2 separate regions of the Homo sapiens genome follow, and region 1 is linked to region 2. Evidence: promoter capture Hi-C in 16 types of primary human blood cells and fetal thymus (Javierre and others, 2016). All regions are on one chromosome and are shown on one strand. The core of a region is centred on a gene start or on the middle of the fragment in contact, and the rest is flanking DNA. Distances in the headings are between cores, read along the strand shown.

What was found. The method cuts DNA at HindIII sites, captures the fragments that hold promoters and counts their contacts. A CHiCAGO score of 5 or more calls a contact.
Region 1: a contact is called between a fragment that was not itself captured here and the fragment with the promoter of TMEM185A in region 2, in 1 of 17 cell types (non-activated CD4 T cells). The highest score is 5.0, in non-activated CD4 T cells.

Annotation. Positions count from the first base shown.
Region 1 is chrX:149,950,214-149,956,012 of GRCh38, forward strand. All of the region lies in intron 7 of EOLA2-DT (EOLA2 divergent transcript), which reads left to right. Among named protein-coding and RNA genes, the nearest start is that of EOLA2-DT, 15 kb to the left of the region's middle. The HindIII fragment of the contact is 3,193 bases long and covers 1,053-4,245 here.
Region 2 is chrX:149,629,088-149,634,249 of GRCh38, forward strand. It overlaps TMEM185A (transmembrane protein 185A), which reads right to left and starts at 2,705. Exons shown (of 7, transcript NM_032508.4): 1 at 2,456-2,705. The coding sequence starts at 2,493. RefSeq lists silencers at 2,198-2,247, 2,258-2,667. The HindIII fragment of the contact is 7,464 bases long and covers 1-3,897 here.

The DNA of each region.
Region 1 (5,799 bases), core at 1,399-3,898, 320 kb after region 2:
TATTTGTTGCCGAGAGAAGCATGTGCTCTGTGTGGCCCCTCATGGGAGGGAGAGAGCATAAGGAAGTCTGTGCATGGGCTCCTCCAAACTTTGCCTGTCTTTTCTGCTTGTGATCTGGCTGTGTGCCCTAACTACATTGCTGTAATAAATCTTGGTTGTGATTATAACTATATGCTGAATCCTGTGTTTCCAACTATAACAAACAAGAAAAGCAGGAATAACATACTATAGAAGTGCATGAGGCAGTTAAGTACTAAAGATAAGTAGCTATTTATGTTATTTTTTTCTAAATTTTCAGATGTTTCTAACATTTGTCAACGTTTTCAAATGTGTGTTCTTTTGTTTTTTTTTTCTCACTTTAAATATTTGCTTTTGTTCCCAATTTTATACTGGTAATTTTGCATTCTTATACTTAAAGAAGGCCCCAGATGTTACAAGCTTCAAGCCCCACAAAACCTGGATCTGTCTCTGTCTTGGATCCAAGACTTGCTGCCTCATGTTGGTTTTCCTGTTGTCACTTCATATTACACAGATGGGGAAATTAAAGCCAAGAGAGGGGAAGCTAACCTTACTTGGCAAAACTGGGACAGGATCCAGTTCTTCCAATTCCCAGTTTAATGAGTGCTCTTTCCCCCTATTCTGTAAAGTTTTTTGGTAACTTGTCTGTAAATATCGGTCATGGTACATTGTCCACTGGGTGGCACTCAAGAGATTGAAATTTGAGTTCCTTCTCTTTGAGTAGTTGGGTAGTCTTGAACTAGTCCCTTTCCCTCCTGGGACAGATTTTCCCAGTTTGTAAAATAAAGGGGCTGGATTTAGTGCTCTTTATAGACCTTTCTCTCTCAGATATTTCCTGAGTTTTTCATTCTAGAAATGCTGGAATCATATATTTGTAACTGAAACTAGTAATCTTCTTGTTCTTGAGTCTTCTTCATCTCTAAAGTGGACATAAAATACATACCTCTCGTGGTTGTTGTGAAGCCCGTGGCACTATTCATGGTAGAGCAGGTGATCAAAAGTCGCTTGCATCCTTCTGTCCAATTGGGAACAAAAGCTTTCATGTATAATTCTCACACCTCTCCCTTGGAATCAGACAATCTTATCAGAAAACCTAAAAATTTTTTTCAATCAATTTAGAAGTTTATTTTGCCAAGGCTAAGGACATGCCTGTGACACTGCCTAAGAAGGTCCTGGTGACATGCCCAAGGTGGTCAGGCCACAGTTTGGTTTTTAGGGAGATATAAGACATCAACTGATACATGTGAGATGTACATTCGTTTGGTCTGGAAAAGCAGGACAAATGGAAGTTGGAGGACTTCCAGGTCATAGGCAGGTTCAGAAATTTTCTGACTGGTATTAATAATTGGTTGAGTTATTATCTAAAGACCTGGAATCATTAGAAGGGAATGTCTGGTTTACGATAAGGAGTTGTGGAGACCACAGTTTTATCATGCAGATGAAACCTCCAGGTAGCAGGCTTCAGAGAGAATAGATTGTAAATGTTTCTTATTAGACTTAAAGAGTCTATTGTATCAGTCTTAAGGACAGTGTTCATGTTGATGGTAATGAGGCATGTCCGACTCCCCCTTCCTCATCATGTCCTGAACTAGTTTTTCAGGTTAACTTTGGAATGCCCTTGGCCAAGAGGAGGGGTCCATTCAGGTGGTTGGGGAGCTTAGAATTTTATTTTTGGTTTACATTCTTTCCTTCTGGCCAGGATTTGCCAGAGGCAACATCAATGGACAAACTTTTATTTTGTCCCATAGCATTGTGGAGGTGGTTTGGCTGCCTGCCCCAGGTCCATCCTGTCCCTTGGTAGGATCTCTATGGCCAAGAGACTTACAGCCAAAAGACTTATAGACAGTTTAAATGTTCTAGGCCAGACAGGAATGGACGTGGACAGGCATTTATTACTCCTTAACAATTTTGAAGTAATGTAAAAGCCAACAAACAGAAAGTAAAAGGCGAGGTTACAAAATTGCCTTATCTATCTTTAACTTCTATGCATTGAGCTACTGTAGTCTTGGTTTTAGTTACAGATTTTTAGCAATTGGCTATATAAGCAAGCCTAAATTTTAAAAAGAAGAGAAAATGAAGCATACATTTAAAAGTTCTTAAACTTTTTTTTTGAAACAGGGTTTCACTTTGTCACTCAGGCTGGAGTGCAGTGATGTGATCATAGCTTTCTGCAGCCTTGACTTCCGGGCTCAAGTGATCCTCCCACCTCCGCCTCCTTAGTAGCTAGGACCACAGGCATGCACCAGCACACCCAGCAAATTAAAAAAAAATTTTTTTTAAAGATGAGATCTCACTATGTTGCCCAGGCTGGTCTGAAATTCCTGTCCTCAAGCAATCCTCCTGCCTTAGCCTCCCAAAGTGCTGAGATTACAGGCATGAGCTACCATGCCTGGCCTAAAACATTTTTAATGGAAGTATAATTTGCAAACAGAAAACATGCCCAAATATTAAGTGAATGCACTGATGAACATTCACAACTTAACAAGATAGCCAGCACTTAAATCACAAAATAGAACACCGCTAGGACCTCTTTGTAATACCCTCCAAGTCACTACTTCTGCCCAAAGGTAATCGCTATTTTGCAACATTTTTTATTACTTTATATAAATGAGATCGTACACTGCGTAATCTTATTACTGTCTGGATTTTTATATTAAATATTGCTTGTGAGATTCATCCATGTTGTCATGTCAGCAATACTTTATTCTCATTGCCATATACTATTCCATTTTTATCAGTATACCATGATATATTTACCCATTCTGCTATTTGTACATACTGGAATTGTTCCCAGGTTTTTGTAATACAAGCAAAGCTGCTATGAACATGCTTGGATTTACTTTCTTTGGTGAATATGTATTACTGTTATGTACATGTCTAGAGGTAAAATTGATGATTTATGGGATATGCATATGTTTAATTTTAGCAGATATTGAAAAACAGATTTTTAAAGCGGCTGTAGCAATTTACATTACCACCAGCAATGTGTGAGTTCCATTTGCTCTCCGTCCTTGACAGCACATGTTGTCACTTAGGTGGGTATGCAGGGGGATCCTTTTTTGGCATGTTTACTTATTTTTTTACACAGTGCAAACTGGTGTGGTGTACCGTTTTATGGCTTTTGCCTAATGCCATCACTAAAGTTACCAAACAATTCCATCACCTCAGAAATTGCTTTGTACCGCCTCTTGGCATTCATCCCCTTCTCCATTCTCAACCCTGGCAGCCACTGATCTAATTTCCATTCCCATAGTTTTCCAGATTATCAAAGAAACAGAATGATATGGTTGTAACCTTTTGGATGTAGCTTCTTTCAGGTAGCAAAATGCTTTTGAGATTTAACTATGTTGTTGTGTTTTCAGTAGTTCATTCCTTTGTGTGTGTGTGTGATAGTCTGACTCTCTTGCCCAGGCTGGAGTGCAGTGGTGTGATCTCAGCCCACTGCAACCCCTGCCTCCCACATTCAAGGGATTCTCATGCCTCAACCTCCCAAGTAGCTGGAACTACAGGCGTGCACCATTGCGCCTGGCTAATTTTTATATTTTTAGTAGAGACAAGGTTTCGCCATGTTGACCAGGCTGGTCTCGAACTCCTGGCCTCAAGTGATGCACCTGCCTCTGCCTCCCAAAGTGCTGGGATGACAGGCGTGAGCCACTGCACCCAGTCCAGAAGTTCATTGCTTTTTATTGCTGGGTCATATTCCATTGTATAGATGTATCACATTTTGTTTATGAGTCCTATAGTTGAGGGATACTTGGTTTGTTTCCATTTTTTCTCTATTATGGATACATTGTTATAAACATTTGTGTACAGGGTTTGTGTGAACATAGTTTTTATTTCTTTTGAGTAAATAGGAGTGGGATTGCTGGGTTACTTGGTAAATTGCTGGGTTATAGTTCTTTTTGAGAACTTGTCAAACTTTTGCTGAGTGGCTATACCATTTTGCATTCCCACTAGGAGGGCTTGAGAGTTCCAGTTGTTCCACATTCTTGCCAGCACCTGGTACTGCTAGTTTTTCTGTGTGTGTTTTTGTTTTGTTTTGCCACTCTAAGGTGTATAGTGGTATCTCTTTCTGGTTATAATTTGCATTTCTCTAATGATTATTAATGTTGAACATCTTTTAACATGCTTATTTGCCATCCATCTAACTTCTGTGGTAAATTTTCTGTTTATATTCTCGTCCATTCAAAATATTGGGTTGCTTGTTTTCTTATGGTTAATTTTAAAAGCTTTATTTGGAAATAATTATAGATTTAAAGGAAGTTGCAAAGAATTGTATTCCCTTCACTCACCCTTCCCCAATGTTAACATCTTGCCTAACTATGGTACAATATTAGTATCAGAAAATTGACATTGGTACAATCCACAGAGGTTATTCAGATTTTACCAGTTATACATATACTTGTGTGTGTGTGTTTCTATGCAATTTTATCACATGTATAGTTTTGTGTAGCTTCCACGACAATCAACATACAGAACTGTGCCATCACCGCAACATTCCTCTCATATTACCTCTCCACAGCCTCACCCACTTCCTACTCTACATCCCTTACCCTTATCAACCACTATTTGGTTTACCATCTGTATAATGTTGTTATTCCAAGGATGTTATATACATGGAAGCATACTATATAGTATGTTTCCTTTTCATATTTGCTTTTTTTCCCACTCAGCATAATTCCTGGAGGTTCCTTCAAGTTGTGACATGTATCAATAGTTCATTCCTTTTTATTGCTGGATAGTATTTCATAGTATGGATGTACTATAATTTAAGCATTGTCAATTTTGGTAGTTTCCACTTTGAGCTATTCCAAATAAAGTTTCTGTGAATATTCATATACAAGTTTCTACATTAACATAAGTTTTCATTTCTCTGGGGTGAATGCCCAAGAGTGCCATTGCTGGGTCATTTGGTAAATATATTTTTTTGTTTTTCTGAGATGGAGTCTTGTTCTGTTGCCAGGCTGGAGTGCTGTGGTGCATTCTCGGCTCACTGCAACCTCCAACTCCCTGGTTCAAGCGATTCTCCTGCCTCAGCCTCCTGAGTAGCTGGGATTACAGGCATGCGCCACCATGCCCAGCTAATTTTTGTATTTTTAGTAGTGACAGGGTTTCACCATGTTCGCCAGGATGGTCTTGAATTCCTGACCTCATAATCTGCCTGCCTTGGCCTCCTAAAGTGCTGGGATTACAGGCGTGAGCCACTGTGCCTGGCCAATCCATTTTTAGTGTTTAAAGAAACTGCAAACCACCATGGCACATGTATACCTATGTAACTAACCTGCACATTCTGCACATGTACCCCAGAATTTAAAGTATAATAAATAATAATACTAATTTTTTTTTTAAAAAAAGAAACTGCCAAACTATTTTCCAGAGTGATTGTGCAGTTTTACATTTTGACCAGCGATGTCAGTGATCCATTTGCTCCACATCTTCATTAGCATTTGGTGTTGTCACAGTGTTTTATTTTAGCCACTTTGATAGGTTTCTAGCAATATCTCATTGTGGTTTTAATTTGCATTTTCCTGAGGGCTAATGATATTGAACATCTTTTCATGTGCTTATTTGGCATCTGTGTATCCTTTTCAGTTAAATGTCTTTTGCCTCTTTTCTAATTGGATTTTTTTTTTAATGTTGAGTTTTGAGAGTTCTTTATATATTCCAGATATAAGTCCTTTGTGGGATATATAATTTGCAAATTTTTCTCTCAGTTTGTAATTTGTCTTTTTTCATCTCCTTGAAAGAGTTTTTCACAGAGCAAAGTTTTTAAATTTGATG
Region 2 (5,162 bases), core at 1,455-3,954:
AGTAAATACTACAGGAACTGTAGAAACAGGGAGCAGTAAATCTGGTCAGGGAAGTCAGGAATGCTTCCCTTAGCAAGTGCCAAGTGAGGATAAATAGGAGTTCACTAGGTCTGGAGGAGAGGAAAAGAGAGGGAAACATTCCTGGTAAAGAGAACAGTGTGTGACAAGGTCCTGGGGTAGGAGGGAGATGTTGAATTGGTTCAAAAATAGAGGCAGGGAGCAAAGCAGTAGCATCAAGGTTTGAGTCCCCAGCATAAGGTAACTTCCTGTGTACACCCCTCAGTTTTCTTTCTCCTATAGAGAAGGCCTTCCTCAGCATGGAAGGAGACTAAAGCACACTGTCAAAAACTAGGAGTGCTCAGGAGAGGTGAAACACTACCAGCTAAAAAAACAAATCTGATTTACCAATAATACCTGGCCAATGTCCTCTTGAAATATCTGTAAAATTAAGGAACTCACTACCTCTGGCAACAATGAATCAGGAAAATGGCACAGTATAAAAGACCTTTAAACTTTTCAGGTAGAAATACATTTTAATGCAGGTAGAATTAAGAGATTGATGAATATGTTGAGAATTACTATAAATCTGCTTAGATACCAGGTATTTCACTGTAATTTCATATACTAATTTTTTTGGGGGGAAAAGGGCTAAAGGAAAAAACGGTTAAAGGTAGTATCAGTGCAGCACTATTTTGCTTTGGCAACTCCGTTAGCCTGTTTGATCACTTAAGGCAGTTTCTTGAGGCTTCTGAATTCTCTGTCACCTTGCAAACAAGTCACTGTAGCTTTCTATTTGTAAGGCACTTTGTAATCAATCCTTAATTGGCCTCCCTACCCCACTGAGAGATTATACTCATTCTACAGATAAAACAATAGATAAGTGAGTTGCCCAAGGGCACAAAACAATTCAGTTTTTACTTAACTTTCTTATCACCATCTCCAAATAGAAGACATACAGGGCTTGTCCAGCCACAGCACCAACCCTACTACCCTGCAGACCAATCTTAACCCCCTGATGCAGCAGAGGAAGGGACTGCAGTTAGTTCTGTTACCTCCTCTATGCCTTCGAAGCCAACAATGATAATGTCTGCACCGTGTTAGAGACACTGGCACTCCTAACCAGAACATGAACTCAAAGTGGAATAAGAGCACATACAAAGTCACAATGACTCACAAGTTAAAATGTCACCATCCCTAGGGAGACTGCACCCTCAACATACAAATACTCCCCTAAAACTTCCTTTCATCCTCAACAAGCAGCCAAGGCATAGGTCCCCAGAGTTGGCCCCCGCAGTACAGCACTGCACAGTACTGTAAGGCATCTTAAGTGTACAAGCCCTTCTTCACCCCATGCTGAGACCGCCAGCATCTAAAGCACCTAACATAGGTTACAGCACACAAATATTTACTGAGCACGTCTTCCCAACTGGCAAATAAGGGAAACGGATACTCCTTTCGGAGAGTAGTGCATTTAAGAGATCAGTTAGGCCAACTCCTCATTTTACAGAAGGGCCAAAGAAGGGCAGAGAATCACCCAGTTACATATGGCCTCGTCTCCAATCCAAGTCTTTGGGCTCAGTTTAGTTCCACAAACATTTTATATGTGCCTACTATGTGCCAGATACGGTGGGTGGGAGGCGCTGGGGACACTGAGATGAGCAGGAGATGGTCTCAGCTTCAGGGAGCTCACAGCCTGGGGTAAAGAACAGTTACAAAACAGTCGGGCAAGTGCAAGGACAGGCGCTTGAGTGCTTAGCCAGTGTTTTCTCCACACTGTCCACTGGGTGTTCCCCATCTGGAAAAGAAGGACAGCAATATCTACTTCCTGCAAATAAACTTGTAGTGAAGACTGATGAGAAAATGAGTATGGAAAATGATCAGGCTCACCCAGAAATGCATTATATAAGGTATTGCCATACCCCGACACTGACTCCAAGGATTCAACAGTGTTTCAGGTATCCGTTCAACAAAGAAGCAAACAAGAGAGGGATGGGCATAAACCCAAGGAAAACCCCAAGGACTGCGAGGAACTGGAGGAAACAGCTGGGGTGGGGGTAGGGGTGTTGGGTCGAGTGAGACGGCCCTGACGCGGAGAATGGAGGGCCCGCAGCGGCGCAGAAGAGGATGGAACCGAGACGAAGAAGTTGGGACACCAATGAGGGACAGCAAGCAGAAAAGAATGGGGTTCCCTTGGGGCAGGACGGGGCTCGCGGCCGGGCCCTTCCGGCCGTGGCCGGGCAGGGGCTGAAAGCACCGGGCACGGGAGGAGGAAGCGGGCGGGCGCCGAGGCCGACTGTTTTGCCTGGGGACCGCTTGCACCCGCAGGGAGGCTCGGGCAGGCGCCCGGGTCCTCGGGCTGCAGCATCTCGCCCGCCGTGCCTCCCCGGAGCCGAACACCAGCCCGCGCCCGAGCCCGCAGCGCGGACTCCCGGGGGCGCCAACGACGCCGCCTCACCTCGGGTTGAAGTCCTGGAAGAGGCCCCTCAGGTTCATGGCGGAGAACTTCACCGCGGCGTCCTCCTCCTCCTCCCCCGCACCCCGTGCTGCACAGCCTGCGCCTTACAGCGGGTTCATGGCGCCAGCGCCAGCCGCGTCCACGCTGCTGCTCCCGCTACTGCTGCCGTCCCCGCTGCCGTCGCCGTCGCCGTCGCCGCCGCCGCCGCCGCCGCCGCCGCCGCCGCCGCCGCCGCCGCCCGGAGAAACCTGAGCCACCGCCCCCTGCCCCTCCTTCCGGGCTTCCGTACGAGGGCCGCGCATGCGTCCGGAGCCCCGCCCAGAGCGCTCCTCGCTGGGAGGTCCCCATCCTTGTGTCCGCACGCGACCGGCGGAGGAGATGGCAGGGGGATGGAGGCTGGGAGTGAGCAGGGCCCCGAGGAAGGGGATGCTGACGGGCTGAAGGCCTGCAGGGAGGGAGCGCGCCGCCCGGGAGTCTGGCGGGCAGATCTTGGCAGACACCTGTCACCTTGGCCCGCGCTACCTTCTGGAGATTTTCCCCAGTGACGACTGAGCCCTGGGAGTAGTGACAATGAGTGAGACGTTGCATTTTTGGCGATGTCATCCCAGGCTTCACCTGTCACATCTGTCAACGACTCCAAAGTTTGGGTCCCAACTTCCCTTCCAATTCCCAAGCCAGCGTGTCCAGATATGCTGGCTATTCCCTACTCAAGTTACCTAGCACCAAAGTCACTTCCCGTGCCAACCGCCTTCCCCTCCTGGGTTCCCTTTTTCCCTTAGCAGCAGGCCTATTCGTACGCAGGGGGGTATTCAAGCAGGAGACGTGGAAATCATCCTCATTTTTCTAACCCAGTTCAGAGCCTCCTTGGATCCTGTCTAAACTTTGTGGTCACTTCACACCTGACCTCTGCCTCCACTCCAGGCTGCCCTACTTACAAGTACCAGGTTCATCTTCCTTGGGCAAGTCAACATCTTTGAGTCTCAGTTTTTCTCCTCCGCAGAATGGAAATGATAAAAACCTCTTTTCTAAGCGTGTTAGGAAGATTCAGTGAGATCGTGTGCATAACACACTGCCTGGTACATGCTAGGTGTACAAAGAATGCTGTTGCTATCTGGTACTCTTTCAGGTGTCAACCTCCTCAAGGATTTTGTTTGCTTTTGGAATCCAAGAGCAGGACAAGCTCATAGCAGGTGACCTAGTTTACCATCTTCACTTTGGGCAGATTTAAGTTTTCATGAGCACAACAATGCCTTAAACATTAGTCTACTATCATTATGGATAATAGTCATCCTTTGTTGCAATAGCAGAGTTTCACAAATGACAATTTTATACTGTTTAGCCCCAAGGGCAGCTTGAGAGAATCACAATTGCGATAGTCATACTTAGTCTTGATGTATCACCTTTCTTCTGAGAACGTAAAAACATATCATAAGTGGTAATTAAGCTTCCCAACACCCACTGGGAAATGGATATTATTATATGAGCTGATTTTAAGGTTGAGTAATCCAAATCAAGTTTTCATCTGCTGAAGCACCAGGACCCTGTCCCAGACTTTTTCACCCATCTTCCTTTCCCATCCTCTGGGTAAAGTCCAATGTGTAGCCCAGAGGAGGTTCTCAATGAACACTCAAATACAGACGAGGAATTAAGGCGCAGAGAAGCTTGTATAACAGGCCCTGAGCGAGCCAGCAAGTAAGGGTGAAGGAGCACAGATGAAACTCAGGGTCTAGCTGAACCTGCAGCCCATACTGTTAGAAAGAGGTGCTTGCCAGTGGTCAGATTGGACAGCACCATCTTCATTACCAGTGACCGTGCCCCAAGCAGGCATGAGAAGATGGTCTGCCAGTTCAGACACTTGAATAACAGGCATCACTGCCCTTTCAAGAGCTTCATAGATAGAGACCAGGCAGGCTCCTCAGAGTCCAGAATCTTGAGGGCAGACGCTACTTTAATGAGATCCCAGGGAGTCTGGGAGCTGAACCACTGCTCTGCAGGCCCACAAGTTCAATTTTAGCAGTTCTTCCAGAGTTGACCAGGCCCTGGAAGCTATCTAGCAAAGGCAACAGGACACTGATGCACAAATTACTTGTCAGTGTGTTCTTTTGCTCTGACAAGGTAAATTGCCAAGAGGAACATATGAACCTGTCTGTGAGGAAATACAGGAAGAACTGGACTTTCCCAAGGCTTCACATCCCCAGTCTTCAAGAGGTGGATTACCTGGACTGATTCTGGAAGCCCAACCCTTTATGCTACTGGTGCTCTCATGGGGAAAAAAAAGCCAGAAACCAGATGGCCATCTGGTCCTCTCTCCAGCAAGTGCAAAAGACCCTACTGACAACCTGCTGCTCACTTCAGAGCCCTCACTCAGTGTCCCACCCTAGATGGAGGTCCAAAGCCTCAATGACCTGTGTAGACAGACCCACAAGTGATCCTGACATTAAAGAAAGACCCTGGGTCATATGCAGGCACCAGGAGTGCTGGGAAGCTTAATTACCACTTATTAAATGTTTCTACATTCTCAGAAGAAAGGTGATACATCAAGGCTAAGTATGACTAGTGGAGAAGATGACACCCACATCTTCTCCACTAGCAGAGTTTGACTTTATCTTTTCCTTGACTTGCCAAAAAATTCCAGGGCTATCTTGCTAGGGGCTCCCAACATTCTTCACTCAAAGGAAAGAAATGGCTCTGGATTGAAAAAGTATGA